Regions from separate parts of the Homo sapiens genome. Here all the other regions are linked to region 4. The links are contacts of gene promoters, found by promoter capture Hi-C in blood cells and fetal thymus (Javierre and others, 2016). All regions are on one chromosome and are shown on one strand. The core of a region is centred on a gene start or on the middle of the fragment in contact, and the rest is flanking DNA. Distances in the headings are between cores, read along the strand shown.

The links. The method cuts DNA at HindIII sites, captures the fragments that hold promoters and counts their contacts. A CHiCAGO score of 5 or more calls a contact.
Region 1: the fragment with the promoter of NHERF4 here is called in contact with the fragment with the promoter of HYOU1 in region 4 in 4 of 17 cell types (total CD4 T cells, neutrophils, naive CD8 T cells and 1 more); the score reaches 7.3 in total CD4 T cells.
Region 2: a contact is called between the fragment with the promoter of CBL here and the fragment with the promoter of HYOU1 in region 4, in 2 of 17 cell types (neutrophils and total CD4 T cells). The highest score is 7.1, in neutrophils.
Region 3: a contact is called between a fragment that was not itself captured here and the fragment with the promoter of HYOU1 in region 4, in 2 of 17 cell types (non-activated CD4 T cells and total CD4 T cells). The highest score is 5.3, in non-activated CD4 T cells.
Region 5: a contact is called between a fragment that was not itself captured here and the fragment with the promoter of HYOU1 in region 4, in 2 of 17 cell types (total CD4 T cells and fetal thymus). The highest score is 6.0, in total CD4 T cells.

Annotation. Positions count from the first base shown.
Region 1 is chr11:119,182,413-119,187,963 of GRCh38, forward strand. It overlaps NHERF4 (NHERF family PDZ scaffold protein 4), which reads left to right and starts at 3,063. Exons shown (of 11, transcript NM_001168468.2): 1 at 3,063-3,098; 2 at 3,513-3,540; 3 at 3,680-3,753; 4 at 4,067-4,278; 5 at 4,858-5,047; 6 at 5,152-5,288; 7 at 5,528-5,551. The coding sequence starts at 3,083. It overlaps NLRX1 (NLR family member X1), which reads left to right. Exons shown (of 10, transcript NM_001282144.2): 10 at 706-1,604. The coding sequence ends at 1,027. The HindIII fragment of the contact is 1,731 bases long and covers 1,435-3,165 here.
Region 2 is chr11:119,204,737-119,210,897 of GRCh38, forward strand. It overlaps CBL (Cbl proto-oncogene), which reads left to right and starts at 1,603. Exons shown (of 16, transcript NM_005188.4): 1 at 1,603-1,876. The coding sequence starts at 1,682. RefSeq lists silencers at 1,111-1,180, 1,221-1,610, 1,681-1,870, 2,061-2,120. The HindIII fragment of the contact is 20,442 bases long and covers 1-6,161 here.
Region 3 is chr11:119,282,290-119,288,442 of GRCh38, forward strand. It overlaps CBL (Cbl proto-oncogene), which reads left to right. Exons shown (of 16, transcript NM_005188.4): 10 at 2,680-2,811; 11 at 2,900-3,277; 12 at 5,563-5,657. Among named protein-coding and RNA genes, the nearest start is that of MIR6756, 28 kb to the right of the region's middle. The HindIII fragment of the contact is 1,516 bases long and covers 1,202-2,717 here.
Region 4 is chr11:119,055,017-119,060,514 of GRCh38, forward strand. It overlaps HYOU1 (hypoxia up-regulated 1), which reads right to left and starts at 2,189. Exons shown (of 26, transcript NM_006389.5): 1 at 2,004-2,189; 2 at 1,054-1,151; 3 at 734-827; 4 at 477-555; 5 at 169-323; 6 at 1-44. The coding sequence starts at 1,144. RefSeq lists enhancers at 1,287-1,787, 1,788-2,287, 2,647-2,696 and silencers at 1,767-2,046, 2,137-2,416. The HindIII fragment of the contact is 24,437 bases long and covers 1-5,498 here.
Region 5 is chr11:119,303,611-119,309,163 of GRCh38, forward strand. It overlaps CBL (Cbl proto-oncogene), which reads left to right. Exons shown (of 16, transcript NM_005188.4): 16 at 1-4,539. MCAM (melanoma cell adhesion molecule) reads right to left here. Exons shown (of 16, transcript NM_006500.3): 16 at 4,919-5,553. Among named protein-coding and RNA genes, the nearest start is that of MIR6756, 6.6 kb to the right of the region's middle. RefSeq lists an enhancer at 2,878-3,623. The HindIII fragment of the contact is 1,328 bases long and covers 3,606-4,933 here.

The DNA.
Region 1 (5,551 bases), core at 1,813-4,312, 130 kb after region 4:
TCCAATCCTAGGGAGTGCTTCTGGGCCTGGGCCTGGTGCCTGTCCTTTATTCCTGGTTTCTGACTGATCCTTGTCAACCTAGCTCTGAGCCAACCCACCCCCTCTGTGACTGGCGCTTAAACTGCACCAATTCCCTACCACCATTTCTCCTAAAGCCCTACTGTCTCTGGTCCCACTGAATTCTAGTATCAGGGTCGGCTGTGGTGGCTCACGTCTGTAATCCCAGCACTTCGGGGGGCCAAGGCGGGCACATCACCTGAGGTCAGGAGTTCAAGACCAGTCTGGCCAACATGGTGAAACCCCGTTTCTACTAAAAATACAAAAATTATCTGGGTGTGGTGGTGCGCACCTGTAATCCCAGCTACTTGGGAGGCTGAGGCAGGAGAATCACCTGAACCCGGCAGGTGGAGGTTGCAGTAAGCCGAGATCATGCCACTGCACTCCAGCCTGGGTGACAGAGCAAGACTCCATCTCAAAAAAAACAAAAACAAAAACAAAAACAAAAACAAAAAAAAAAAAGAATTTTAGTATTAGTCCCTGCCTCCCACTGGCCAGCAGCCTCCACCTCTGGCTCATTGCAGTTACCTGATCGCACTCTGCAGCCAGGAGATGAGTTGTGAGGCCCCCTGACTTTCCATCCATCTACCCTCGGGCCCTCCTTCTCAGAGCTCTACTGAATGGCATCGACTTTCTCTCTCCTGCCAGCCTCTACTTCAATGAGCTGAGCTCAGAGGGCCGCCAGGTCTTGCGAGACTTGGGGGGTGCTGCTGAAGGTGGTGCCCGGGTGGTGGTGTCACTGACAGAGGGGACGGCGGTGTCAGAATACTGGTCAGTGATCCTCAGTGAAGTCCAGCGGAACCTCAATAGCTGGGATCGGGCCCGGGTTCAGCGACACCTTGAGCTCCTACTGCGGGATCTGGAAGATAGCCGGGGTGCCACCCTTAATCCTTGGCGCAAGGCCCAGCTGCTGCGAGTGGAGGGCGAGGTCAGGGCCCTCCTGGAGCAGCTGGGAAGCTCTGGAAGCTGAGACACTGGCGGCAGGCACCTAGCTATGTGACCACTGGCCCTAAACCTTTTCCCTCTGTGGCCTCCTGGCTTGCACTGCTCCCTCTAGAAAGATTCCTTCAGGTCTGGAGGCAGAGGAATGGGCATAGCTGAGCCAGTTGCCCTCCTAGGGCATGTTTGACCAGGACTGAGTCTGGAATCTCCAAGTTAAAGATGGTGAATCAATGCTTCGGGCTTGGAGATGGAACATGCCTCCTCTCCATTCAGCTAGAAGGACCAAAGCATGTGGCATTTGGATGGCCAGAGTGCCCTGAAGCACCACTACCAACCTTGCCTCCCCCTCCTCTCAAAGAGCCTCTGACTGTGTCACCAAGGGGCTCACATCTTATGTCTGCCATGCCAGGGGTGTCGCCATCCAGATGTGTTGGAAGCTTCCCCTCCTGCCTTATGCTCACCTGTGGACACCGAGGATGCCCTCACATTGGTGCTTTCTCCTCATCCTCATGCCCCCTTTGCCACAATGGTATGATGGCTTGGTAGCCCCTCGAGGCAGATGCACCTGACTTGCTGCTATTAAAAAGCCGTGTGCCTTCTACCAATTGTGGCCTCTTCTTTACTGCCTGGTGCTTCCAAGAAAGGGCACTGTTCTTGGTCTTTCTGGTTAAACTACCAACCATGATCTATTGCAAGTGGTTCTTGGGCACTAGGTTCAGAGGCAGTGGAGGCTGGAAGGGCCCATGAACAAGATATTGGCATGGGGGTTGGCCATGCTGGGCTGTATTAGTCCAGTCTCACGCTGCTAATAAAGACATACCCAAGACAGGGTAAGTAATTTATAAAGGAGGCTGGGCATGGTGACTCACGCCCGTAATCCCAGCACTTTGGGAGGCCGAGGTGAGCGGATCACCTGAGGTCAGGAGTTTGAGACCAGCCTGACCGACATGGATAGACCTCGTCTCTACTAAAAATACAAAATTAGCTGGGTGTGATGGCACATGCTTGTAATCCCAGCTACTCGAGAGGCTGAAGCAAGAGTATTGCTTGAACCCAGGAGGTGGAGGTTGCCGTGAGCCGAGATAGTGCCACTGCACTCCAGCCTGGAGAACAAGAGTGAAACTCTGTCAAAAAAAAAATTTATAAACGAAAGAGGTTTAATTGACTCACAGTTCCACATAGCTGGGGAGGCCTCACAATCGTGGCAGAAGGCAAATGAGGAGCAAAGTCACATCTTACATAGCAGCAGGCAAGAGAGTGTGTGCCGGGGAACTCCCCTTTATAAAACCATCAAATCTCATGAGACTTATTCACTATCATGAAAACAGCACGGGAAAACCTGCCCCTGTGATTTAATTACCTCCCACCGGGTACCTCCCATGACACGAGGGAGTTATGGGAGCTGCAATTCAAGATGAGATTTGGGTAGGGACACAGCCAAACCATACTATGGGCCATAGAATTATCACCCTTTTCACACTTACCCCCCAGGCTTGGAGTTAGTGACCAGCAATCTGCCTTTCTCTGCACAGAGGGGCAACTGGGTCAGATTCAGGGTCTCCAGAAAAAGTTGGGGCCCAGGGATAGATTCAGGAGGAACCCACACAGTTTTCCAGAGGATAAGACTCTCAGCGGGGCACGGTGGCTGACGCCTGTAATCCCAGCACTTTGGGAGGCCGATGAGGGCAGATCACCTGAGGTGGGGAGTTTGAGACCAGCCTGACTAATATGGAGAAACCCCATCTCTACTAAAAATACAAAATTAGCCAGGTGTGGTGGTGCATGCCTGTAATCCCAGCTACTCGGGAGGCTGAGGCAGGAGAATTGCTTGAACCTGGGAGGCAGAGGTTATGATGAGCCAAGATCATGCCATTGCACTCCAGCCTGGGCAACAAGAGCTAAACTCGGTCTCAAAAAAAAAAAAAAAAAAAAAAAAAAAAAAAGACTCTCACTCCCGTTAACCATTACCCCACTGCTTCCACAGCGTCTTCAAGGAGGCGGGACCTGGGAGGGGATGGGTGGGAGGATCAGTGGCTGTGATGAACCTTGTCCCTACCCCGGGCACTGGGTTGCTGATCCAGCTATGGAGAAAGCCGCAGGTAGGAGGCCAGGAGAAATCCTCTGCAGGGGACTTTGGGACAGGCAGGGGGCCGACTTGGAGGCTGAAGCTTTGGGACCAGGGCACACTTGATTTTGGGGCTTGGAGCCCTGAGGCAGGTAAACAAGTCAGGAGAAAAGTAATGAGTTGATATGTCTGTCTTCCTGGTCCACACCCTGTACTGATATGCTCAGATTTATGTGCCAAGGACTTGGGGGGAGAGAAAGGGAGGGGACCGCACAATAGTCCTGTGTGTATGGCAGTGAGAAGAGAAGACCCCTTTGGAGCAGAAAGGAGGGGGCATGCCCTGAGTTTGGGGGTTTCCCTGAGTCCTTTTAGTTTATGCCAATGGAAGAGGCACATCTGGGGAGAAGAATGTGACTCTCCTCCTCTCACCCACTTCTTTGCCCAGTAGATCTGCAGGACACAGCCTCGTTAACTCTGTAAGTGCCACGAGGGTTGGGGCAAGGGGAGGAAATAATTGGAGGCAGCGAAGCGCTTCACTGCCATTAGCACCTAAAGGAGATCCTGGGACCCAAGTCCAGCTGCCAGCTTGTACCTGCTTCCCCTGCCTCCTTGCAGGAAGTTTAAGTTTAACCCAAAGCTGGGCATTGATAATCCTGTCCTCTCCCTGGCCGAAGACCACGACCCCTATGGTAACTCCCTCACCCCCTGGCAACCATTCCCTATCCCTGGAGGCACCACGGCTCCACACGGCCTCCGATCTCCTTGGTAACCACTCACTCGGTCTCCCTCTGATAACAGCCTTGGTTGGGAGTAGAGATAGGAGGGGCCGGGTGTTTTCTCCTGTCCCAGTCCCTCTGCCCACGAACCCCACCACCCAACACCCAACCAGGCAGAAACTGCCCAGCACCCTATCAGGACACAGGGTCTGCCAGGCACACGGCGAACCTGTACTTGGGCTGTGCCCTCTCCTCCCCCTTTTCTGCTGCCCACCTCACCCTCCAGATCCCTGGAGCCTGGAGCGGCCTCGCTTCTGTTTACTGAGCAAAGAGGAGGGCAAGAGTTTTGGCTTCCACCTGCAGCAGGAGCTGGGCAGGGCTGGGCATGTGGTGTGCAGGGTGGACCCAGGCACCTCTGCCCAGCGCCAGGGTCTTCAGGAAGGAGACAGGATCCTGGCGGTGAACAATGATGTTGTGGAACACGAAGACTATGCGGTGGTAAGGCTGTGGTCCAGGAGAGCATGCTAGCACCTCAGAAAGAGAAGCGGGTTGCTCAGTCCCCTGGGCAGTATGGCAGCAGGGCACAAGCCTCACTCCCCCACACCCCAGGATTTAGAAGTGCCCAAGTCAGAGGGGTAGGGAAAGCATCTAGAAAGCCGATTCCCGCTGGGCGCAGTGGCTCACGCCTGTAATCCCAGCACTTTGGGAGGCCAAGGCAGGTGGATCACCCAAGGTCAGGAGTTCAAGACCAGCCTGGCCAACATGGCAAGACCCTGTCTCTACTAAAAATACAGAAATTAGCTGGGCGTGGTGGCAGGCGCCTGTAATCCCAGCTACTCGGGAGGGCTGAGGCAGGAGAATCACTTGAACATGGGAGGCGGAGGTTGCGGTGAGCTGAGATCGCACCATTGCACTCCAACCTGGGCGACAAGAGCAAAACTCCATCTCAAAAAAAAAAAAAAAAAAGAAAAAGAAAAAAAGCCGATTCCCTTGGCAAAAAAATGTGGATTCCAGGGAGGTCCTGGGGGTTGGCAAGAGGGTCTAGACCAAACCCACGCCCACGTGCCCTCTGTCCAGGTGGTACGCCGCATCCGGGCCAGCAGCCCTCGGGTGTTGCTGACAGTATTGGCACGGCATGCACATGACGTGGCCCGAGCTCAGCTGGGAGAAGATGCCCACCTCTGTCCCACCCTAGGCCCAGGGGTCCGGCCCCGGCTGTGCCACATAGTGAAAGATGAGGGTGGTTTTGGCTTCAGTGTCACCCATGGTGAGCCCAGAGGGTGCGAGGGGGCGGCAAGGATGAGGGATCTCAGCCCCTGTTCAGGGCAGGCAGGAAACAGACTGGACCTTGCTTTTTTTTTTAATTTCTAGGCAATCAGGGTCCTTTCTGGTTGGTGCTAAGTACTGGAGGAGCAGCTGAGCGGGCAGGGGTGCCCCCCGGGGCCCGGCTGCTGGAAGTGAATGGGGTCAGTGTGGAGAAGTTCACTCACAACCAACTCACCAGGAAGGTGTGACTGCCTGTCTCCCACTCTCCTCCCCCAATCCGGGCCTGGGCCCCACCTCGGGAAGACGCCTCCTTCCCCATGCGCCTAACCTCCTTATCTGGTCTCCTACCTTTATCACCATCCTCCCCCTCTACAGTTTGTGCCAGGCTCCACTTAGTGCCTGGGAGGAGGGGCTGTGGGGGGAGCATACCTCTTCTCTCCCTGCCCAGGTGTTATACTGATGCCCTGCTGGGTCCCCACAGCTTTGGCAGAGTGGACAGCAGGTG
Region 2 (6,161 bases), core at 353-2,852, 150 kb after region 4:
GCGATGCTGTCTGAACTATACTTTAGGAAGCCTATGGTGGCAGGATGAATTGAAGGCACAGGAAAAGGTTTCAATATTCAATAGTCCAGGGAAAAGAAACGGAGGACCTGCAACTAGGTGTTGGCACTAAGGGATGGAGCTTTGCCTAGATTTTCCCTTTGTAGATTCTTCTCTTCCTGGATGGAAAATGATAAAAGGAAATTCTTCTGATAGTAAATTATAATGTTGACTCCAAAATCAATTCTAGATAAAGGCGATTAAATTGCAAACCCAGGATGCCTGTCTGAATGGTCCCTGCATTCAAAGATATTTTCCCCTTTACAGGAGCACCGGATAAATTTAACTCCCTAATCTGTCAAGGGCTTTGTGGAAGAGCCTGGAGGGGGATCGAAGGCGGAACTGATACTGACACACCTGGGTCTGCAAACTCCCAAAACTGAGGCTCAGAATTAGTAAATTAGGGCAGGGCACTTCCCTCTTTGGAAGGGAAGTTCCTATTTTCAAAGTTCTTCCAACGGAACTTTTACATTAGAGAAGTGTAATTGACTGAGAAGTGGAAGTGACCAGGAACAGCATTTCTGTTCCCTGGGCGGGAGAGAGAACCCCCTCGGGCGGAGCCAGCAGCAGGTCAGCTTCTGAGGGGGCCCTCATGCTGGCGGCGCCGACCTGTGGTGCAATGCTCTGAGTAGGAGAATCTTAAATACATGTTTGAGATTCAATTCCCAGAAACGTAACTAGTCTTCACAAGCCAAAAAAATAAAAATAAAAAATAAAAAAAGGAAGTGATTTCTTTTCAAGAGGTCAAAGGGCCTGGAAGAAGAGGTCCTGGCTTGAGTGTCTCAAGGCTTTCTGGGGCCTAATCCGGCTGGAATGGGCCGCAGCATTCATATTCCTGTCCTTGGTCGTGTCTTAATGAAGAATTGAAAATAATAAGGGGTGGAGAAATAACTTTCCTTTTTCTCCCACCATCCTCCCACAGTGTAAATAAACAAATAACTCTAAGCTCGATTTCCTCATTTGTCAGGGGTGGGGAAAGACTTGACATCAGGACTCTTCCATTCCATCGCCACCTGTCTTAATTTAAACATTCCCATGACCCACCCCAGAAGCGCCAACCTCCCGCCCACAAGGAGCATGGAAGTCTTGGTTTCTGGCTACTGCGCAGACTCCACCTTGGACCTACTCCCCAACCCCCCGCCGCTCCTTTCCCCGTTTCTCCAGCAGAGGGCGCAGGCCCAAAGGTTCCGCCGACCCCGCCCCAGCCTGGCCCCGCCCCGCCCCGGCGTAGGGGCGGGGAAGACGGGCACAGAAACCTGGCCGCGGCTTTCCGGGAGCTGTGGGCACGCGAGCTGCTCGAAGCCGGTGGCCCGGGGATCGTCGCTGCCCAGTCCGGCCGCGGCCGGCCGCTTCCCCGAGCTTACCAGTAAGCCGGTCCGCCTCCGGGACGCGCCCCGCCCGCCCCGGGCTCGCGCGCTCTGAAGGGGCGCGTCCCGCGCACTCCCGGCGCCGCCCACTCCCCTCCCCACGGCCGCTCCTCCCTCCGCCCGGATAGCCGGCGGCGGCGGCGGCGGCGGCGGCGGCGGCGGCCGGGAGAGGCCCCTCCTTCACGCCCTGCTTCTCTCCCTCGCTCGCAGTCGAGCCGAGCCGGCGGACCCGCCTGGGCTCCGACCCTGCCCAGGCCATGGCCGGCAACGTGAAGAAGAGCTCTGGGGCCGGGGGCGGCAGCGGCTCCGGGGGCTCGGGTTCGGGTGGCCTGATTGGGCTCATGAAGGACGCCTTCCAGCCGCACCACCACCACCACCACCACCTCAGCCCCCACCCGCCGGGGACGGTGGACAAGAAGATGGTGGAGAAGTGCTGGAAGCTCATGGACAAGGTGAAAGGCCGGCTGAGCGCCCGCTGTTGCAGGGTGGGCGTGGGCGGAGGGCCGCGGGGAGGGGAACGAGCGGACGGAGGAAGCGGGGGAGGGGACGGGTCTGGTGAAGCCGGGGAGGCGCGGAGCCGGGGTGACCGGCCGGGGGCGTGGGGGCAGGGACGAGGCCGGGAGGGTGGGGGGCGGCGTGGGGGAGGGGCTGCCGTTGGGAGTCGGGGAACGCTGGGGTGCCGCGTTTGGGGTAGCCAGACAAAGATGGAGTGGGGGCTGGGGCGAAGGTTAACTGGGAAGTCAGTGGGGCGGAAGTACAATGAGGGGTGCGGAGTTTGGGGCTCTGTGCAGGGTGTAGGGATGTAGGTCACGGAATTGGCCTGGGAGGTTAGCAGGGAGGGGGTGAGGAAGAGTGATGTACCGGCTGGGGCTCTTGGCTGGGTGAGATCTGACTAGGGAATTAGGTTCATGGGCTCTGACTGAGGAACCTGGCTGGGGTCAGGACAGCTCTCAGGGAAGCTGTGCTCTGGGTGAGAGTATAGTCCTTTCTCATTAAGATGTAACACGAAGATAAAAGACATATTGATGTTTAAGTGAGGCAAGGAAAGAACTTTCCTCCCCATCTAGCGCCGGCTCAAGTTTTTTGTTACCCTCAGAAACACTGGATGTGATCCATTGCTGGTGCTGAGATATGCACTGATTAAACCACAAGTTCTGGTTAGAACTATTATCTTCTGAAAGATGGACTGGCTGAGCCTGTTAAGCAGCAGCAGATTCTGACTTCTTAATAACTTCCTCCCTACTACATCGCTTGAGCTGGGTTCTTTTTTTCTGGTAACGGTTCTGACTCCTTATTACAGGTCCTGACTTTAAACTTGTTCGTTGAGCTTCTTTGATTACGCTTTTTTGTTTGTTTGCTTTTTGCAAGTGCGAACAAAAATAACTCCTTTATATTTAGCCACTAAGTTTGTCATTTGGGAGAATTTTACTTCCTTATAGTTGTGTCTATATGATGAAATGTAGTCAGTCTCAAGTATTTAACTGTTTAAGCAGTCGGACGCTTTGTCAGAATTCAATACGTTTTCTTGGTATTTTTCATATTCTTTAATTAATTACTTTGACAAAATTCATATTGCGTATGAAAAGTGATTAGAAGTATCTGGCACGTTTTAAGAGAATGGTGTTATTTCCTCCAGGGTAAAATTTGGTTTTCTTTGGTTCCTCCCTGGGCCTCGGTTCCTCTTCTGTAAAGTTCTTCATGGGTTGCTTTGGACTAGAAACCGCTAATAAAATGATTATGAAGCACTTAGCCAATGTAATGTGCAATTTAAATGCTTAATAAGTCCTGTGTGTGAATTAACACTCCAGTAGTGCATGCCAGTGGTTTCATAGCCACCTTTTTAGGGCTGGCTTTTCTCATGTTAAATAATTGGTATTGTAATTAATGACACAAGTATTCGTGTGTTGATTATATTGGTGGTGTAGTACTAATTTTATTGTTAGAAATTATAATAAAATCCTTACAGAAAGTTTAGGTGTGTAAAGGAAACTTTAAATGTGTCGACTCCTTTAAAAAAAACACATCGAAGATATTCAAATGCTAAAGTTTGTTAGTTTGCTTTTTAGGGATTTATCGTTAAGGACTACAAATTTTACTCTGGCATAGAAAAAATACTTTTCTAATGAGTGTCTCGTATCAGACATGTGGGTGCAGTACAATCAAAATTGTGTTGATTAGTGGCCTCTGCTTAAGAATAATCTGTTTACTAAAGAGTTTCTGTATTCTGTATTCTTTTTTTTTTTTTGAGACGGAGTTTTTCGCTCTTGTTACCCAGGCTGGAGTGCATGGTGCGATCTCGACTCACTGCAACCTCCGCCTCCTGGGTTCAAGACATTCTCGTGCCTCAGCCTCCCGAGTAGCTGGGATTACAGGTGCGCGCCACCACGCCCAGCTAATTTTTTGTATTTTTAGTAGAGACGGGGTTTCATCATGTTGACCAGGCTCGTCTCGAACTCCTGACCTCAGGTGATCCATGCGCCACGGCCTCCCAAAGTGCTGGGATTACAGGTGTGAGCCACTGGGCCTGGCCCTGTATTCTTAAAGAATAAGAGTATTCTGTATTCTTATTAAAGTGTTTCTATAAATACAGAGTAAGTTGTAGATAGTCCTATTCTACAAGGTAGCCCAAATAAAATCCTCCCTTAAGTCTTACTCCTTCATCTATTTAAAGTATGTGTATTGAATTTTGATTTATTCTGCAGAATGTTTAATTATTTGGGAAGAATAAAGAGGACTCAAAGTTTAGACTCAAATTGCTTTTCAGGTTTGATAGTTTCACGGAAAGTAGGCTTCTAGCTTTTCCCTTCCAGTGTAGGGAGAGGGATGTTTTATTTTTGTATTACTTGCCTCGGAAGTTGATTTTAATACTGTCTGTTCCCCTCTTATCACGTATTTCTAGTTGCTCTGAAAACGTAGTACTTTCTAATGTGTTAGTCTGATACGTTTATACTGCTTTCCAGATTTTCTGAATACCTCTGTGATGTTACTAGATTGCACCATCTCTTTTACCCTTGATGTTTTGAGCATAAGGTGTCCTCTTTTTTCACTTTATTTTTATTGTTGAAAGTCTTAAATGTGTCACCACACCTTGACTTCATGTGCTATAAGTGGTGAAGAACCTACTGTCAAATCCACAGATGTCCCACACATTTAATTCTTTTTAACAAAATTTCTGGGCCGGGCCCCGTGGCTCACGCTTGTAATCCCAGCACTTTGGGAGGCCGAGGTGGGCGGCTCACTTGAGGTCAGGAGCTCCAGACCAGCTCTGCCAACATGGTGAAATGCTGCCTCTACTAAAAAATACAAAAATTAGCTGGGTGTGGTGGCAGACGCCTGTAATCCCAGCTACTTGGGAGACTGGGACAGGAGAATCCCTTGAACCTGGGGCAGAGGTTGCAGTGAGCCAAGATCGCACCACTGCACTCTAGCCTGAGCGACAGAGTGAGACTCCGTCTCAAAAAAAAAAAAAAGTCTGTTTAATTCTTTTAAATGACACACATTTAGTTCTAAGTCACCATCTCATACCTGCTTTATCTTTGTTGTTGAAGCTGGATGAATATTATTCCAGCCAACTCTTAATCAGTTTATTGAATTAGCACTGGGAGCTGTTAGTCTCTTTCCTTCCCCCAATATTGGATATATACAGATGGAAAAAGTTGGCATAAGTCATGGGTTCTGGTTAACATAGGCCCGATTTACTAATCCATTATGGAACTTAAACTTAACTGTTGGAAAAATGTTTGTGCTAGAATGCTTGTTATTAAACAAAAGTTAGACAGAGCCACTGGTTTTCTTTTTGCCACCCCAGGATATTGTAATAAACATGTGCATAAATACTTGTATGTGAAGTGGCTTGTAAGCCAAAAGACAATTAGGCAGGGAGGAGAGGAGTGGGAAGTGGAGAGAAAAGAGAAAAAGTCACCTAAATTGGCCTTAAATGTATGCTGGGCTCACACCTGTAATCCCAACACTTTGGGAGGATGAGGTAGGCAGATCATTTGATCCCAGCTTCAGCCCAGGAATTCCAGACCAGCCTGGGCAACATGACGAAACCCTGTCTCTACAAAAAATACACATATTAGCCAGGCGTGGTGGTGCCTTCCTCTAAGCTCGAGCTGCTTGGGAGGATCACTTGAGCTTGGGAGATAGAGGCTGCAATGAGCTGTTGAGTCAGCCACTGCACTCCAGCCTGGGCAACAGAGTGACACCCTGTTTCAAAAACAAATAAATTGCTTTAAATGTAAATTTAAAAGTATCAAAGTGTTTAATTTAGTAAGAGACTTTATTTATTTATTTATTTGCTCTGTCACCCAGGCTGGAATGCAGTGGCATGATCTCGGCTCATTGTTTCCTCTACCTCCCAGGTTCAAATGATTTTCGTGCCTCAGCCACCAAGTAGCTGGGATTATAGGCATGCGCCACCACACCTGGCTAATTTTTCAATTTTTTTTTTTTTTTTTTTTTTTTTACTAGAGACGGATTTTCACCATGTTGGCCAGGCTGCTCTCGAACTCCTGGCCTCAATTGATCTGCCCACCTCAGCCTCCCAAAGTGCTGAGGTGGGATAACAGGCATGAGCCACCGCGCCTGGCTCAATTTAGTAAGAGACTTTAAATTCCATTATGAAATAGAACAGAGGTTGGCAAACTTTTTCTGTAAAGGGAGGTTTCAGGGCCACTGTAAATACAGTAATCCTCCATTATTCTAGGGGATATGTTCAAGACACCCAGTGGATGC
Region 3 (6,153 bases), core at 710-3,209, 230 kb after region 4:
ATCGCACTATTTCACTCCAGCCTGGGCAACAAGAGTGAGACTCCATCTCAAAAAAAAAAAAAAAGACTATTGCAAGGATCCATTATGATGTTGAGACATGAATGTAAAAATATGATTAGTTCAACCCTCTGTGCCTAAGGAATGAGAGAAAGATTGATGATCGGCAGAGAGGGCCTTCCAGAATGGGGAAAGGATTTAAAGAATGATACGGAAGTCGAAATAATCATTAGAATGTGCAGGAAACACTGAGGAGATGAGCCTGAATAGAGCAGCGTTGATGCTTGTTAGGGAGTTGTGGGAAATACCTTTCTTTGGTTGCAGAGACCAGATTAGAAAGACTTGTGAAAGCTGGGCAGGAGGGTGAGATTTTGTAACAGGGCAAATTGGGAGTTACTGGTGGTTTTTGAGTTGGTGAGTGTTTAAGAATGGCTAAGCTGATAGTGGTAAGCAGAAGGATGTGGTGAGATAAACTACAAGTTGGGAAGTTCACTAGGTTGTTTTAATAAATCACGGCCACCCGCGGTGGCTCACGCCTGTAATGCCAGCCCTTTGGGAGGCCAAGGCAAGGAGGATCACTTTAGCCCAGAGGTTTGAGTCCACCCTGGGCAACATGACAAGACCCCGTCTACCCGTGCCTTCCCCGCGCCCCAAAAAAAAAAAAGCCACATGTGGTGGCGCACAGCTTGTCCCAGCTACTTGAGAGGCTGAGGCAGGAGGATGGCTTGAGCCCAGGAGGTCAAGGCTGCAGTGCACCATGTTTGTGCCACTGCAGTCCAGCCTGGGCTACAGAGCAAGACCCTGTCTCCCATAAATAAGTAAGGTCTGGGGTTGGTAAGTAGAATGAAATGAAATATACAGGTATGAGAATCTTTTAGGGAAAAATCAGCAGGATATAGCTACTGACAAAATAATTATGATGAAGTGAGAGGAGGCTTGACTAGTAACTTTGACTTTTGTCATTGAGCTGTTTAGCTGCTCATGCTGCATTGTCAGCTAATTGGGAACCCGTTATCTTAAGCATGTGGATAAAGCAAAGAGTTAAAGATGAGAGCTTTTCTGTCATCCACCACCCAGCACTAATAACATGACTAAATATGGCTGTTTTTCTGTCAGTGTTGCTTTGCTGTTGGGGAATTTAAATGCAGAGTAGCATTTTTTTTTTAATGAATTACTGTGTATCTCTTGACAGCTTACTTTGACAAGCTTATCAGCTATTCCTAAGCCTGCTATAGGCAGGGAAATGGAAAAGGTTATATATGTGTTCTTTCTTCTAATTTGGTACCTCATTTTTTAGAGCTCAAATTGACAGAAAATATTAATCCTTTTTAATTCTTTCTTTTTTTTTTTTTTTTTTTTTTTTTTTTTTGAGATGGAGTCTTGCTCTTTTGCCCAGGCTGGAGTGCAGTGGCGCTATCTCGGCTCACTGCAAGCTCCGCCTCCCGGGTTCATGCCATTCTCCTGCCTCAGCCTCCTGAATAGCTGGGACTACAGGCGCCCGCCACCACACCTGGCTAATTTTTTGTATTTTTAGTAGAGACGGGGTTTCACCGTGTTAGCCAAGATGGTCTCGATCTCCTGACCTCGTGATCCACCCGCCTCAGCCTCCCAAAGTGCTGCGATTACAGGCGTGAGCCACCACGCCTGGCCTTAATTATTGAATTGAAATAATTTATTTCTTTGGAAGGACTCAAGATGCTTTTTAGTGATATTCTTGATCATTTTTCTTTACAAATTCACCTTAAAAAAATTTTTAGTTAAAATTTTTTAGAGGGATCTCACTATGTTGACAAGGCTGGTCTTGAACTCCTGGCCTCAAGCAATCCTCCTGCCTCCCCAAATGCAGGATTACAGGTGTGAGCCACTGTACCGACTCTCATCTTCTTTCTTACCTTAATAACCCATAGAGAATTCACCGTCATCGATCTCTTTCTTTATTATGTCCCTTAAACATTGTTTTCCCAGGTACTTTGTTAAGAGGTTAATATCTGCACCCCCCGCCCCACTGCCATCCTTTTTTTTTATTTTATTTTTGTCGAGACAGGCTCTTGCTCTGTTGCCCAGGCTGGAGTACAGTGGCTAGATTATGGTTCACTGCAGTCTCAAACTCCTAGGCTCAAGCAGTCTTCCTGTTTTAGCCTCCCAAATAGCTGTGTGCCACCATGGCCCAGCTAATTTTTTATTTTATTTTTTGTAGAGATGGGGTCTCATTATGTTGCCCATACTGGTCTCGAACTCCTGCCTCCCAAAATGTTAGTATTACAGGTGTGGGCCACTGTGCATGGCCTGCCCCTTACTTTTTATATGGATTCCTATTTTTAATCTTGAAAAGATTTTTTTCTTTCTCCAAAGATGAGGGGGTAGAAAACTGTTGTAATTTTTAAAGTTGTAAACTAGGAAACTTTTTGTAGCCCTGTCCTTTCTAGATAGATTACCTGTAGCTTGCCATGGGTATGGTGTTTCTGTGATTGAGAGTGCCCTCTTATGGTGACACAAAAATTATTCAGGAAGTGCTAGAGTCTCTGGAAGTTTTTTAAGAGGGTGTGTGCGACCTCAAACCTAGGTCTGGCCCATTTGTAGTTTAAGTGTTCCCATGGTATTTGCCATCCACAGCTTTAGGAGAGTTGAAAGATGCCATTTCCCCAAACGAAAGTAATCTGTTAAATTTTTTATGTACCCTAGGTGGAACGGCCGCCTTCTCCATTCTCCATGGCCCCACAAGCTTCCCTTCCCCCGGTGCCACCACGACTTGACCTTCTGCCGCAGCGAGTATGTGTTCCCTCAAGTGCTTCTGCTCTTGGAACTGCTTCTAAGGTAAAGCATTTTCCATTACTGCAGTTTTTGGATTCTTTGCTGTGTACTAGTGGGTTTTTACTGATTTGCTTTCACCCTGCTTCCACAGGCTGCTTCTGGCTCCCTTCATAAAGACAAACCATTGCCAGTACCTCCCACACTTCGAGATCTTCCACCACCACCGCCTCCAGACCGGCCATATTCTGTTGGAGCAGAATCCCGACCTCAAAGACGCCCCTTGCCTTGTACACCAGGCGACTGTCCCTCCAGAGACAAACTGCCCCCTGTCCCCTCTAGCCGCCTTGGAGACTCATGGCTGCCCCGGCCAATCCCCAAAGTACCAGTATCTGCCCCAAGTTCCAGTGATCCCTGGACAGGAAGAGAATTAACCAACCGGCACTCACTTCCATTTTCATTGCCCTCACAAATGGAGCCCAGACCAGATGTGCCTAGGCTCGGAAGCACGTTCAGTCTGGATACCTCCATGGTGAGTCTTAATTTTGAAACTATCTAACCTGTTAAGAAATATGTGTGGGCCAGGCACAGTGGCTCATGTCTGTAATCCCAGCAATTTGGGAGGCCAAGGTGGGTGGATCGCTTGAGCCGAGGATTTCGAGACCAGCCTGGGGGACGTAGTGAAACCCTGTCTCTACAAAAATTACAAAAATTAGCTGGGCGTGGTGGCACTTGCCTGTAATTCCAGCTACTCGGGAGGCTGAGGTGGGAATATTGCTTGGGCCCAGGAGGCCAAGCTTTCAGTGAGCCATGATGGCGCCACTGCACTCCAGCCTAGGCAATAGAGTAAGACCCTGTCTTGAAAAAAAAGAAGAAAGAAAAAGAAATATGTGTGGATAGAAGTTTATGGGTTGAAATTTTGTGATAAGTTTTATATGGAATTCAGAGATGCTATAACATAATTCCTACCCTCAAGAAATATGGCTGGGCGTGGTGGCTCACACCTGCAATCACAGCACTTTAGGAGGCCGAGGCGGGTGGATCACCTGAGGTCAGGAGTTTGAGACCACCCTGGCTAACATGATGAAACCCCGTCTCTACTAAAAATACAAAAAATTAACTGGGCCTGGTGGTGGGTGTCTGTAATTCCAGCTACTCAGGAGGCTGAGGCAGGAGATTCATTTGAACCTGGAGGCAGAGGTTGCAGTGAGCTGAGATCAGGTGATTGCACTCCAGCCTGGGCAACAAGAGTGAAACTTTGTCTCAAAAAAAAAATGTGTATATTCACAGACCAGATGAGGCAGTTTGTAAATATTGCAGTAAATGTCCTTTCATAAATGCCATTTGTAATCTAACTAGAAAACACTTAAGTTTTAGAGAAATAAGAGGTTATTCCCAGATAGGGCAATCATGAGAACTTTATAGAAGGAGTGGCATCTGAGATCTGAAGTATTTCTTTGGAAAGTGGATACGGTTTTCAGATTGATAACAGCCACAATGACAGAAATGCCTAAGGTGTATTGTGGAATGATGATTAGGTTATTTTAAGTAGAGCAGAAATTTTGTCAGTAGGAGAAAGAACTGGAAAGGAACATCACACTAGATTAGAGAGAGTTGAATACCCTCTCCCAAAAGAATTTTAATTTGTATGGTAGGAAATGAAGAGCATTTGAAGGGGGTAGGTTATTGGTCCTTTGTCTAAATATGCAAGAAAGGGTCCAGAACTGAGAGGTGGGAGAGGAATATTTGATGTTTTGTTCATTTATGCACTTAACAAAAAGTCTTGCCCTCACAAAGTTTATATTCTAATGGGAGGAAGATGGAATATAAACATGTTAATTGAATAACATAGTATGTTCACAGTCACAAGTGCTATGGAGAAAAATAGCCCAAAGAAGGGTATAGAGAAAGCTGGCATAGGAGTGGGAGGTATGTGAAGTTATAGAGTACAATTCTGAGCAGAAACCTGTAGCAGTAGGAGGATGTGCCATGCTGATCCCAGGGGAGATTATTCCAGGATGAAGGAAAAAGCAAGTGAGTTTGGGAGAGACTGAAGAATAACAAAGGGGTTTAATATAGCCAGTACTAAATGAGCAAGAGAGAGAATCATTGTTTATGAGCAGAGTGGGCAGCCAGATGATTAGGTCGAAGCCTTTCGAGAGCATGAAATAAAGACTTGTTAAGGCTTGAAAAGCAGTCAGTGGGTGGAAAAAAAGGTAAGTACCACACGTGCACTGCATGCGCGTAAAAACGAAACTTTTACCTGGCTGACTGTTGCATTTGAAATGAGCAGTTGATGGAAGCATCAGCAAGTAGGCAGTCAGAAATCCAAGGAGGCAGAATGGGAAGAGTGAAGTTGAGAAGTGTTGTGGCACTAAGTGAATGGCATCTCTTGGTTGCAGAGAAAGGGTAATGCTCAAGTGGTACCTGTGGGGTGGATAGCCTAATTAGTGAGTGTGGATTAGGTTTGACTTTCTGGCAGCATCAGTATAGAATGACCATTTTGCGTTTGGATATAGATTATTTAAGATACTAATGGTATTTGTGTAGATAGCCAATTTACTCAAATCTTTTTAGAATTAAACCAAAAAGTTCATTTCCCTGGCTCTTTCTAGATCTCCACCTCTCTAAACTTTACATTTGAAGGTTCTTCGGAGCCTTAAGGCCCCTAAGCGTTTGGTCAGATGTGATAACCCCTGGGCATGGCATTGAGAGTTAGGTTTGTATCTGTTATTGTTATTTTGAAAAGGTTCAATAAGAGCAGAGGCTCAGCTGTGGTAAGAAAGTTGTTTTTCAACACTTTTCTTTACTTTCCAGAGTATGAATAGCAGCCCATTAGTAGGTCCAGAGTGTGACCACCCCAAAATCAAACCTTCCTCATCTGCCAATGCCATTTATTCTCTGGCTGCCAGGTAAGTCTGCTAAAGCTATATTTTGTACAGTGGAGTTGTTACTTGTAAAAAGCTTACTTGCAGAAAATTGAGAAAACCCAGAAAAGTGTAAAAAAGAAAATAAAAATCTCTGCACCATGTAGAAATGATTATATTTTATGTTTTAGAGTATTTCCTTCTTTTCCTTTTTCTGCATATGTGTACCTAGATCTGTTTTGCTGGGGCCTGTCAATTTTATTAATATTTTCAAGGAAGTAATTTTGGATATCTGCCATCTGTTTCATTGCTCTGCGCTCTTTATTCTTCCAGCTTTCTTTAAGTTTAATTTGCTGTTTTCCTAGCTTCATGAAATGGACGCTGTGTTGATCTGCTCAGGCTGCCATGACAAAATACCACATATTGGGTGGTTTAAATAGCAGAAATTTATTTTCCCTGAGTTCTGGAGGCTGGAAGTCTGAGATCAGGGTGCCTGCATGGTGGCTTTCCGGTGAGGGCTCTCTTCCTGCATCTCACTATG
Region 4 (5,498 bases), core at 939-3,438:
TGAGAACCATGCCCAACACTTCCTCAGGTGAGAACTGCAGCTGCCTGAGGGGAAGGAAGGTAGTTGGAGCCAAGGAAAGCCAGGCATTAAGGCAGGACAATCAGGAACACACACCAATGAGGAGCCCAGCAGCGTTGCCGAGACCACCTTCCCCAACAGAGCACTCACGAGCTGATCTGAAAGTGCACAGTCTGCCTCTGTGGGTCGAAAGTCAGCTCGTGCTCCGGGAAGCGGGCCTGGTAAAGAGCTACATGGGGGTTATCTGCCTGCTTCCCCAGGAGGTGCTGGAAGTAACGTAGCGTAGCCTTTGGATTCTTAATCGCCTGAGGGGTGAAGAAGGAGCAGACTAGTATTAGGCTCCCAAGTCCACCATTACCTACCTCTTACATCACAGAGACTGATAAGGAAACAGACTCTGGGGGCTGCCATCTCCTCTCCTCTGCCCACCACTCTGGGAAGAGGGACTGCTAGCTCACCATGCTTGCTGCACTGTCTCCAAAGAATCTTTCATTTTCTTTCAGGGTCACGATCACCGGTGTTTTCCTCCGAGATTCCCTGAGGAAAAGAGATTTTGGGCCCAGGTGCCTGCAGCAGAAGGACTCAGAAGCCTCGACACTCACACACATTTAACCACTCAGATGCCGAAGTCTGCTGTGGGCACTATGACTAACACATTCACACTTGGAGCCCAGACTCCCTCGTTCCCCACCCTTAACACGGGGGCCACCCTCACTTATTCAAGACAATTTCCATGGGCACTCCAGGTTTGACAATGGCCACCTTCATGGACTCACTGCCCAGGTCCACAGACATCACTGCCAGTGTATCTGAAGGGAAAAGAGGTTTGTCAGTTAGCTCTCCCTTCGCCCACCTTCCTGGGACTCCCTCTAATCAAAGCATACCACTTTCCATGGGTAAACGAAGATGGCAAAAGACAAAAAGGCCTGGACCTAACAACTCAAGAGACTTCTGGCCAACAGCCCCAAGCTCAATTCCCATCATGCATCCTTCAGTCATCATTTATCCATTTGCTCCCTCTACTGGGGTACATACCACTCAGTGCCAACAGGTCTGCCAAGAGCACAGCCACCAAGGCCCAACAGACTCGCCTCCTCGGCCTCTGCCTCCTAACTTTGTCTGCCATAGTGCCCCTGGGGGAGGCGAAGAAAGAAAACACTTAAAACTGGATACCCGGAGTGAAGGAGACAGAATCACATCCCAGAACGGAGAGGCTGTAAGATTCATATCTACTTCATTCTTACCCAGGGCAGATCAGCCTACTTCTCCCCTTCTCCCTCCTGATGGGTACAAACCATTCTCTAATCATCCCAGCAGCGCCCACACAAAGGCCCAAGTGAAAGAGCATGGGTCCTCGGCTTTGCCACATCCCTAAACAGAGAAGCTAACAGGACAAGAGAAAGGAGACCCGAGCCTTTTGTCCACCACACAGGCAGTGAGTGGCGCACCGCAGCACTGTGCCTGTTGTCAGACACCTGGGGTGCGGCCAGGGATCCCCGCCCAGGGCTCAACCACCTCCCCACACCTGGAGCTCCCCCGCTGACGGGGAAAGCCAGCTGGGCCTGGACGGGAAGAGAAAGGTAATGACGTTGGGGGTAGCTAGGATGAAGGAAAGGCCTATCTCCTCCTCGGCATCCCTGCGGGTTGTCCCGCCCCCTCCCCTTTCCCAGCTCACTCCCCGGCCCCGCTGTGCCCACAGACGCAGTGCCAGGGGCGGTAAGGTTCCCCGCCCGGCGGGTAGCCGTTACCCGGTGTTCACCTAAACCCCACCTGACGAAGGCGGCGGCTCCCACTCCCGGAAACGGATCCCGGCCCGCCCCAGCAAGTGGGGACAGACCGGGGGCCGAGCTGCGTGCCCCCCGGTGCGAGGCCGAGCGCCCGGCGTCCGCGCGGCCCTCCCTTGCGCTCCCGACCCGCCCCCGGAGCTCGCACGCTGTCTCCCCTAGGAGGGGTGGCCGGCCCGCACCTCCATCCACCCCCGCTACCTCTTGCCTCCGCTCCTGCGGCCCCAGCTCTGGGACAGACGCGGCACGAACGTACCCACGAGGCCGGCAGCGCCCCCCACCCGCGCCCTTCACAACTCCTCTCGGTTTGCAAACTGTTACATTAGCCACCAACCTCTCGGCGGCGTCTCGCGCACCAGCCGGCCCCGGACGCGGCGCGCGCTCATTGGAGCCTCGGCCGCCCGGCCCTGCGCTGCGCGCCCGGCCCCGCCCCCGCCGCCCCGGCGCGCGTACTCATTGGACCACGTCCCAGGCCCCGCCCCCTCCCTTTGCCAGCCTTGTAATGGGGCGGCGGAGGGGACCAGCCACCGGTTGGGCAGAAGCAGCCGGCGTCGGCCTGGGATTGGACCACGTCACGGGGCCAGCGCGCTCCACTCCTTCCTCCCCAGCGCCGGCCCCGGGGCGACCGCGGGACCTTTTCCGGCGCTGGATGCTTTGCTGCCGGGGTTCGGGAGTGACCTGCGCCTAGAGCAGGTCGGGCGCACTGCAGTCCCGCACTCGGGGCTCTTCTTCCGGTCACCTGTAGAGCCCGGCCGAGGAATGGAATAACAGGCGTCCTGTCCGCAGCCCCGCGGAGGGGGCGCTGGCCTGCCGGTTAGTATTGAGGTGCCCTAGGCTTTGGATAGACGTTGGAGAATGGCTGTCCCTCGGACTGAGTCCGTCGCAACCCCCTCTGTTTTACTGAGGAAACTGAAGCCACAGAAAAAGATGTTTGCTGATGGGTCAGAGATAACCGATGCATTCGTCGCAGAATCTGGCCAGGATTTCTTAGGTTAAGCCCCACTCATTTGTATAAGAAAGAATATTCCAAACTTAAGTACTACACACAAAAGACACTTTTATTTGTGAGGCTATAGTTGGTTGAGCTTGTGTGCACCTTCTCCTATTTCTGTTCTATTAAATCTTGTGAACATTTCTCTACTCTTTAGCTGTTTCTGTCATAGAATGACAGAAGCACCTCACTGCCTTCTCTTTTAACTTACAGCTCCATAGAAATGTGCGCAGTCGCCCGGGCGCGGTGGCTCACGCCTGTAATCCCAGCATTTTGGGAGGCCAAGGCGGGCGAATCACTGGAGGTCAGGAGTTCGAGACCAGCCTGGCCAACATGGTGAAACCCCGTCTCTACCAAAACTACAAAAATTAGCCAGGCGTGGTGGCGGGTGCCTGTAATCCCAGCTACTCACGAGGCTGAGGCAGGAGAATTGCTTGAATCCGGGAGGCAGAGGTTGCTGTGAGCCCAGACTGCGCCACTGCACTCCAGCCTGGGCGACAACAGCGAGACTCCTTCTCGAAAAAGAAATGTACGCAGTCCTTGGAGACTGCATTTTCCTTAAGTGTGGATGGAAATAAGTCATCTGTTTTCTCTCCTACTAAGTTGATGCCTGGCCACCCTTCACAGAAAGGCCCGCTTGAAGACCCTGGCTGTCAGGGCCAGGGTTGTGTCAAGCCTGAACTTGTTTAAGGAGCTCTTAGCTCTTCCTTTCTCTACATTTTTCGTGATGCTTAGGTGGAGAGTGGTCCGGTGTCTATGCTTAGAAGGAAAAATTATTGGCAGTCCCAGAGAGAGTCTATTCTTCCTTTTTTTTTTTTTTTTTTTTTTATTGATCATTCTTGGGTGTTTCTGGCAGAGGGGGATTTGGCAGGGTCATAGGACAATAGTGGAGGGAAGGTCAGCAGATAAACAAGTGAACAAAGGTCTCTGGCTTTCCTAGGCAGAGGACCCTGCGGCCTTCCGCAGTGTTTGTGTCCCTGGGTACTTGAGATTAGGGAGTGGTGATGACTCCTAACGAGCATGCTGCCTTCAAGCATCTGTTTAACAAAGCACATCTTGCACCGCCCTTAATCCATTTAACCCTGAGTGGACACAGCACATGTTTCAGAGAGCACAGGGTTGGGGGTAAGGTCATAGATCAACAGCATCCCAAGGCAGAAGAATTTTTCTTAGTACAGAACAAAATGAAGTCTCCCATGTCTACTTCTTTCCACACAGACACAGCAACAATCCGATCTCTATCTTTTCCCCACCTTTCCCCCTTTTCTATTCCACAAAACCACCATTGTCATCATGGCCCGTTCTCAATGAGCTGTTGGGTACACCTCCTAGACGGGGTGGTGGCCGGGCAGAGGGGCTCCTCACCTCCCAGAAGGGGCGGCCGGGCAGAGGCGCCCCCCACCTCCCGGACGGGGCGGCGGCCGGGCGGAGGCGCCCCCCCACCTCCCTCCCGGACGGGGCGGCTGGCCGTGCGGGGGCTGGCCCCCCACCTCCCTCCCGGACGGGGCGGCTGGCGGGGTGGCTACGGCGGGGCAGAGGCGCTCCCCACATCTCAGATGATGGGCGGCCGGGCAGAGACGCTCCTCACTTCTTAGACGGGATGGCGGCCGGGAAGAGGCGCTCCTCACTTCCCAGACTGGGCAGCCGGGCAGAGGGGCTCCTCACATCCCAGACGATGGGCAGCCAGGCAGAGACGCTCCTCACTTCCCAGACGGGGTGGCGGCCGGGCAGAGGCTGCAATCTCGGCACTTTGGGAGGCCAAGGCAGGCGGCTGGGAGGTGGAGGTTGTAGCTAGCCGAGATCACGCCACTGCACTCCAGCCTGGGCAACATTGAGCACTGAGTGAACGAGACTCCGTCTGCAATCCCGGCACCTCGGGAGGCCGAGGCTGGCGGATCACTCGCGGTTAGGAGCTGGAGACCAGCCCGGCCAACACAGCGAAACCCCGTCTCCACCAAAAAAACACAGGCGTGGCGGCGCGCGCCCGCAATCGCAGGCACTCGGCAGGCTGAGGCAGGAGAATCAGGCAGGGAGGTTGCAGTGAGCCGAGATGGCAGCAGTACAGTCTAGCTTCGGCTGGGCATCAGAGGGAGACCGTGGAAAGAGAGGGAGAGGGAGACCCTGGGGAAAGGGGGAGGGGGAGGGAGAGCTATTCTTCCTTTTAAGAGTAGTTATGTATTCAGGCAGTAGACAAATTGGTAGAAATAGAAATTCAGTTAAAATTTTAACAGAATTTAATTACACAAATAATACACAAATGTAATCTTTAAAAAATTCATTCTACACAAAGGCAAATTTCCTTGATGCCAACCCAAACCCCCACTCTCTCTTGTGGAGGCACCTGCTATTGTCAGTGTGGTGTATAAGTTTCCAGGTCTTTCCCTCTTTTACACATATAGATATCCTAGAAACATGTAGCTTTTATCTTTTCATAATATACATTTTTTATTTTTTGCAACCAACACCTTGTTTGCCTTTTATCTTTTTTAAAACCATAAAATGTTACACAATTACATTGTTTGCAATTTTTTTAAACTAATAATAAAGTGTGGAGCATTTTCCATGTAACTGTGGTTCATTTCCTCGTTTACTGCTGTAGAACATTCCATAGCATGGGGTTCGTTCTGCCATAATGATAGACATATACGCTGTCAGTTCAATTCCACAGGGAAAGATTTTGTTTCTCAGTAATAGACTCCACTTTT
Region 5 (5,553 bases), core at 3,020-5,519, 250 kb after region 4:
TCCCATTATCCCCTGTTGTCTCCTGTAGCTTTGATAATGCCTGGGAGATTCCTTGGTGTAAGTGTCATGGATACCGACTGTTTTTATGTTGGAATTTGTTCCAACATAATTAGAATCTGTTTGGTGAGTTGAAAGGTAAGTTGGCTCAGAGTTGCACAGTAGGGCATTAAATGTTTAAGCAAAGCATCTGCCCACACTCCCCTTTCCAATCTAGTGCCTTCCTTGAACTTTTTCCTGAGCTGCTACGTCCCTAATCCCCCTTGTTGGGAGGATTTTCGTATCACCCTTATGGGACCTGTCACCATGTCCTGTACTATTTGGAATTGGTTTTCCAGTCTTTCAACAACCGTTGTGGCTAACTATGTTTTAGAAGGGCTGGAGGTGTGGGCCCTGTCTTCGGGTCTCAGGACCCAAAGATCCTTTAGTCAGTTGTTGGGTCTTCCAAGAGCCAGACATTAATACAGATTGAACTCCATCAGTCCCCTAATTGTCAGCCTTTACCTCCCTCCCAGAGCAAGGAGTTTAGGGATTCTAAAGCTTAGTGTCCACACATCATTCTACCAGACCTTAGAGCTTTAGAAGCTCAATCTAAAATACTGTAACTCAGCATAAACTATTACTATCACTCCTTTGAACTCAGTCTCCATGAGCAGTGTTTTGTTGGAAATACATAGAACGGCTTAATGCCTAGAGGGTGGTGGATAGTGAAGGACGGTCAAGGTTATATTTTTGACTGCTTAGGGATTCTTTGGATCCAAGAAACAGAAATGTTCAAGCGGAATAAAGGAGGGAGTGGAGTTGTGGTAAGGATGCAGGGTATTTCGCAGAACCCAGGACGGGAAGTGCCTTTGGTTCTTGGGTGGAGCTGGAACTGCAGAGCTTTGCACCTAGTCCTTTCTCCCGCTTCACAGTCTGCTTATGGTATATGTGGCCCCCAAATAGGCACTCTAGTCCTCAAGTCTACACCACCTTCCAACTCTGGGGATCACCATGAACAAATTCTCAATTTCCCATACTTAATTTTTTTTTTTTTTGAGATGGAGTCTCGCTGTGTCGCCCAGGCTGGAGTGCAGTGGTGCAGTCTCAACTCACCACAACCTCTGCCTCCCAGGTTCAAGCAGTTCTCTGCCTCAACCTCCCGAGTAGCTGGGATTACAGGCGCCTGCCACCATGCCCAGCTAATGTTCATATTTTTAGTAGAGACAGGGTTTCACCGTCTTGGCTAGGCTGGTCTTGAACTCCTGACCCTCATGATCCACCCACCTCGGCCTCCCAAAGTGCTAAGATTACAGGCGTGAGCCACCGCGCCCGGCCCATACTTCGTATTCTTAAAAAAAACTACACTCAGCCCAGCACATTGATCAAGTATCTATCTCTGAGCAGTTGGCCTTGCCAGGGAGAGCAGAGATGTGGCAGGCTCCTTCAGCTGGAGACAGGGAGCTTCTCAGAGAAGTGAGCAGAGACTCCACAGACACCCTAAAAAGGCTTCTACTCAAGAAGTAAAGCCACTACTCCTGCCTTTTTGCTTAGTGGACAGGAAGGCACAGGAGTTTGTCTGGGACATCATAGAAATTCTTAGGTTTAACTTAATTCTGGTCATTGTCTTCTTTATTTCCTGTTTTTCTTCCCTTTGTCAGTCTTCGCATCCAAGATTTCTTCCCTCCCTCTTGTGGGCCAGCCTGTCCTGTTCCAGAGCTAGCCTGTTCCTGGGTAGCCTTCCTTAGCCTCCATTCAGCCTCAGGTCTTTTGCCTTCTTCCGTGTTTATTTAGAGAGCAGAATCTAATAACGGGTTCCACTGTAGCCACTATCCATGGACTTCTGGGTCCTCTTCAGGTTTGAGTGCTTGAAAATGTTCATTCTCTGGGCTTGTGGCCTGTCTCCTCCACTCTCCTCCTCACCCTCTCGCTCCTTCCTGTGTGAGGGCCGCTCTGCAGTAATGTTCTCAGGCAAGCCTTCCTAGGCACCTCAGAAACTACTTTGCCAGAGCCAGTAAGAATATATAATATTGGAGCAGTTGCCAGGATAGAAATTAAATATAGATTCCAGTTTAGGATAGAGTTTTTACCGAGAGCTCTTTAGACAGTATACCTGTGTCTTCTCTGGCAATTGCTTTCATTTTAGTCCTATATAAAAGCTTTCCTTTTCTGTTTTTTTTTAAAACTATGCTTTTGCTTGCCTAAATCTTTTGATCTTATATTTCTCTCATCTCAGAGCCTGTCCTGAGTTGTAAGGTATTTCATACTGCCTTACTTAAAAGTTTTTTAAACTACTAGAGTCATTTGATACACACAGAAGTTACCTAATAATCCAAAGATGTCCATCAAGGGAGGAAGGGTGGGTCATCAGACTTTGCCTTTGATGTTGTAGACTAGGCTCCTGAGTTAAGCAGCAGAGGGACAGCAGTGCCATGTGCCTTCACTGTGTCCCAGGAAATCTGGGTTGGTTCCAGTGGGAAATACCAGTATTTCTTGGTTCTGGAAAGTAGCAAAAGAGTAGGAGATGGGGAAATAGGGATGGGGAGAGCAAGCCCCGCATGTCCATGGCGAGTCAGGTGGGGAGCACGGGTGGAAGGGCCGGCTGTTGACAGACAGACTAAGCTGTGTGGTGCTCTTGCCGCCCCTTCCTGGGTACAGAGCTTGAGAAAAATGCAGCCGACCACTCCCTGTGTTTGTACAGAGCAAAGCCCAAAAGCCAACCTCAGATCTCCTGATTTGGCAGCTGAAGAAATCAGCAGAGTCCTGATTGCCTGATTCAGTCCCAAAAATGAATGTCAGGCCCCGCCCCCTCCCCACCAACATTGCCTCTCCTACATTCTCCTTCTGCCCCTAAATCAGACAGGAGGCCAGAGAGGAGTATTGCTCAATGCGTGCTATGTGCAACTCCTCAGGCCTTGTGCCACCTCCATGCTGAGCCCTGAAGCAGGGTGTCCTGGGTGCCTGTGTGTCAGCTCCCTCCTCTCTACCTACCTCTGACCTTCTTGTGGGTGAGGGTGGCCATGCTTATGGCCATCTTAAAACTGGAGAGGCAGAGAACTACTTATGAGTCTGTAGACCACGTGTTGTCTTCCATGGCCTGTTTCTCCTGCTGTCTGGGTGAGTGAGCCTGCAACGCAATGCCCATGAGAGTAAATGCCTCCTGACCTACCCTGCTCAGCACTGTTCTAGTGTCTTGGCCTTGAAAGAAAAGCCTGACTTCCTGCTGACACATGTGGTAGGGGCATGGCAGCTATGAGGCACCTCCTACGTCTGTTTTCTGGCTGTGGTGACTTGGGATTTTTAACCTTATATATCTTTTTCCTTTACTCAAAACAAAACAATTTTTAGCACACTGAAAAAAAAAAAAAGCCAAATGTTTTGTGCCTTTCTAAGGCAGCACTGTATCCCAGGCTGCATTTTAGGACTTAATATGGAAATACCAGAGTCTGAGCTCCTCTACCTTGAGTTTCATTAGTCCTTAGTGTCTAGGAGACAGGAAAGAATGCTCTCTGTGACTGGAGAGGTGACATGCAGGTGCAGTGTGTCTGGAGTCCCTTTCCCCTGCTGTGAGACTTCAGTGGAGGAGAGAAGCATTGTACCCTGGGATCATTTGGTTGGTTCCAATCACAAGCTTAGTTATCAGGTTGCATGCCTTGTCTCCTGCAAAAGACAGAATGTTTCACAATTCCCAGGTAAACTCTGGACCATTCCAAGTGTCCTAGCCTTCTGATGACATTAATTACCTAGTTGTGTCGAGGAGTATAGGATGGACTCTCCTGAGAAGGGGAGGTTGGTGGCTTTGTCTTTTCTTTTTGCTGGATCCTGAACTGGTCTAGACCTCCTGCCCCCACCCCCCAGCCCCCATCAGATGTGGCTGGCCTTTCATTTGAAGGCTTCAGACTTAAAGCATTAAGCAGCTAGTGCCCTCTGCAGGGCCTGGTTTCCCCAGGGAAGGGCAGCAAGGAACATGGGACCAGAAGCCTGTCCTCAGTAATGTGACTATAGTGAGCTTTAGCAAAAGTTTTTCTATATAATGACATCTTACTTATCTTTTACCCTTTCCTCAGTTTTCCCCTGCCTTTAACTAATAAAGAATTGGGAGACAGAAATTTTAAAGTCCTCCTTATTCAAGATTTTGAAATTCTTAGCCTGGGAGTGCTGGAGAGAACCTGATGCTTTCTCCAGAATGAAGAGTCCCAATTTGTATATCAGTGTTAAGAAGAAAACAAAACAAACACATAGGTGAGATTTTCGTGGACTATTTTAAAAATGTGTCATTAATATAAAAAATTTATATTAGCAGTATTTAATCATTCTCACCTGTAAAGAATAAGAAAAACAGAAGGTAAATATTCTTACAGAGAATAGCAGAGCTTTAAGATTCATTTTCATTTTAAGTCCATTTTATTTTGCCAGTGTATTAATGTTTAGAAGTCTGTTTTACTAATGTTATTTATTAATTTTTTTTCATTTCCATACACAGTTAGTTAACTAAAGAGCTTTTTCAAGCACCCATGTCTGTAAAAAAATATTTTTAAATAAAGTTTCTTTTGTTGTAGCAGACTTGAGTTCTTGCTCATTCAGGGGGTTGGGAGGCAATACTCGAGTTGCCGTAGGACCAAATGCCAAGGCCCCCTTCCTCATGGCGGTGAGCCTGAGCTGCTGTCTGGAGGGCAGTTCCAAGTGGCAGGAAAGCATAGGAAGGGGACATAGCTCCTGCTAACAGCCTGCCAGGCCCTTCGTGCTGCGTCATCAGGGCAGTTTTGCTGCTGAAAAGTAGGGTGACTGTCTGCTCTGGTAGAACTTGAGCCATTTGCTCAGAAGCAGAGGTAACCCCTGATCTCTGCTGCCAACTGGAAACGGTTTTGTGTGCCTTTTGGTTGTAGTTTCACAGGCCCCCAGGTTCCTGTGGTACCCATGATGAATAAAAAGCAATGTATGATTTCTGGGACAATTAAGCTTTATTTTTCATATATATATATATTTTCATATATATATATACATACATATATAAAGGAAACAATTTGCAAATTTACACACCTGACAAAACCATATATACACACATATGTATGCATACACACAGACAGACACACACACCCGAAGCTCTAGCCAGGCCCGTTTTCCATCCCTAAGTACCATTCTCTCATTTGGGCCCTTCTAGGGTTGGGGCCCTGAGCTTGGTTTGTAGAAGTTTGGTGCTAATATAACCATAGCTTTAATCCCCATGAAGGACAGTGTAGACCTCATCTTTGTCTGCTCCCCGCTGCCTTTCAGTTTTACGTGATCCATCAAGAGGGCTATGGGAGCCAAGTGAACACGGGGGATTGAGGCTAATTCACCTGAACTCGAAAACAGCGCCCAGCTTCCTCACCGCAGGCACGTATCTTTTCTTTTTTTTTCCTCGAGACGGAGTCTCGCTGTGTTGCCCAGGCTGGAGTGCAGTGGCACGGTCTCGGCTCACTGCAAGCTCCACCTCCTGGATTCATACCATTCTCCTGCTTCAGCCTTCCGAGTAGCTGGGACTATAGGTGCCAACCACTACGCCTAGCTAATTTTTTTTTGTATTTTTAGTAGAGA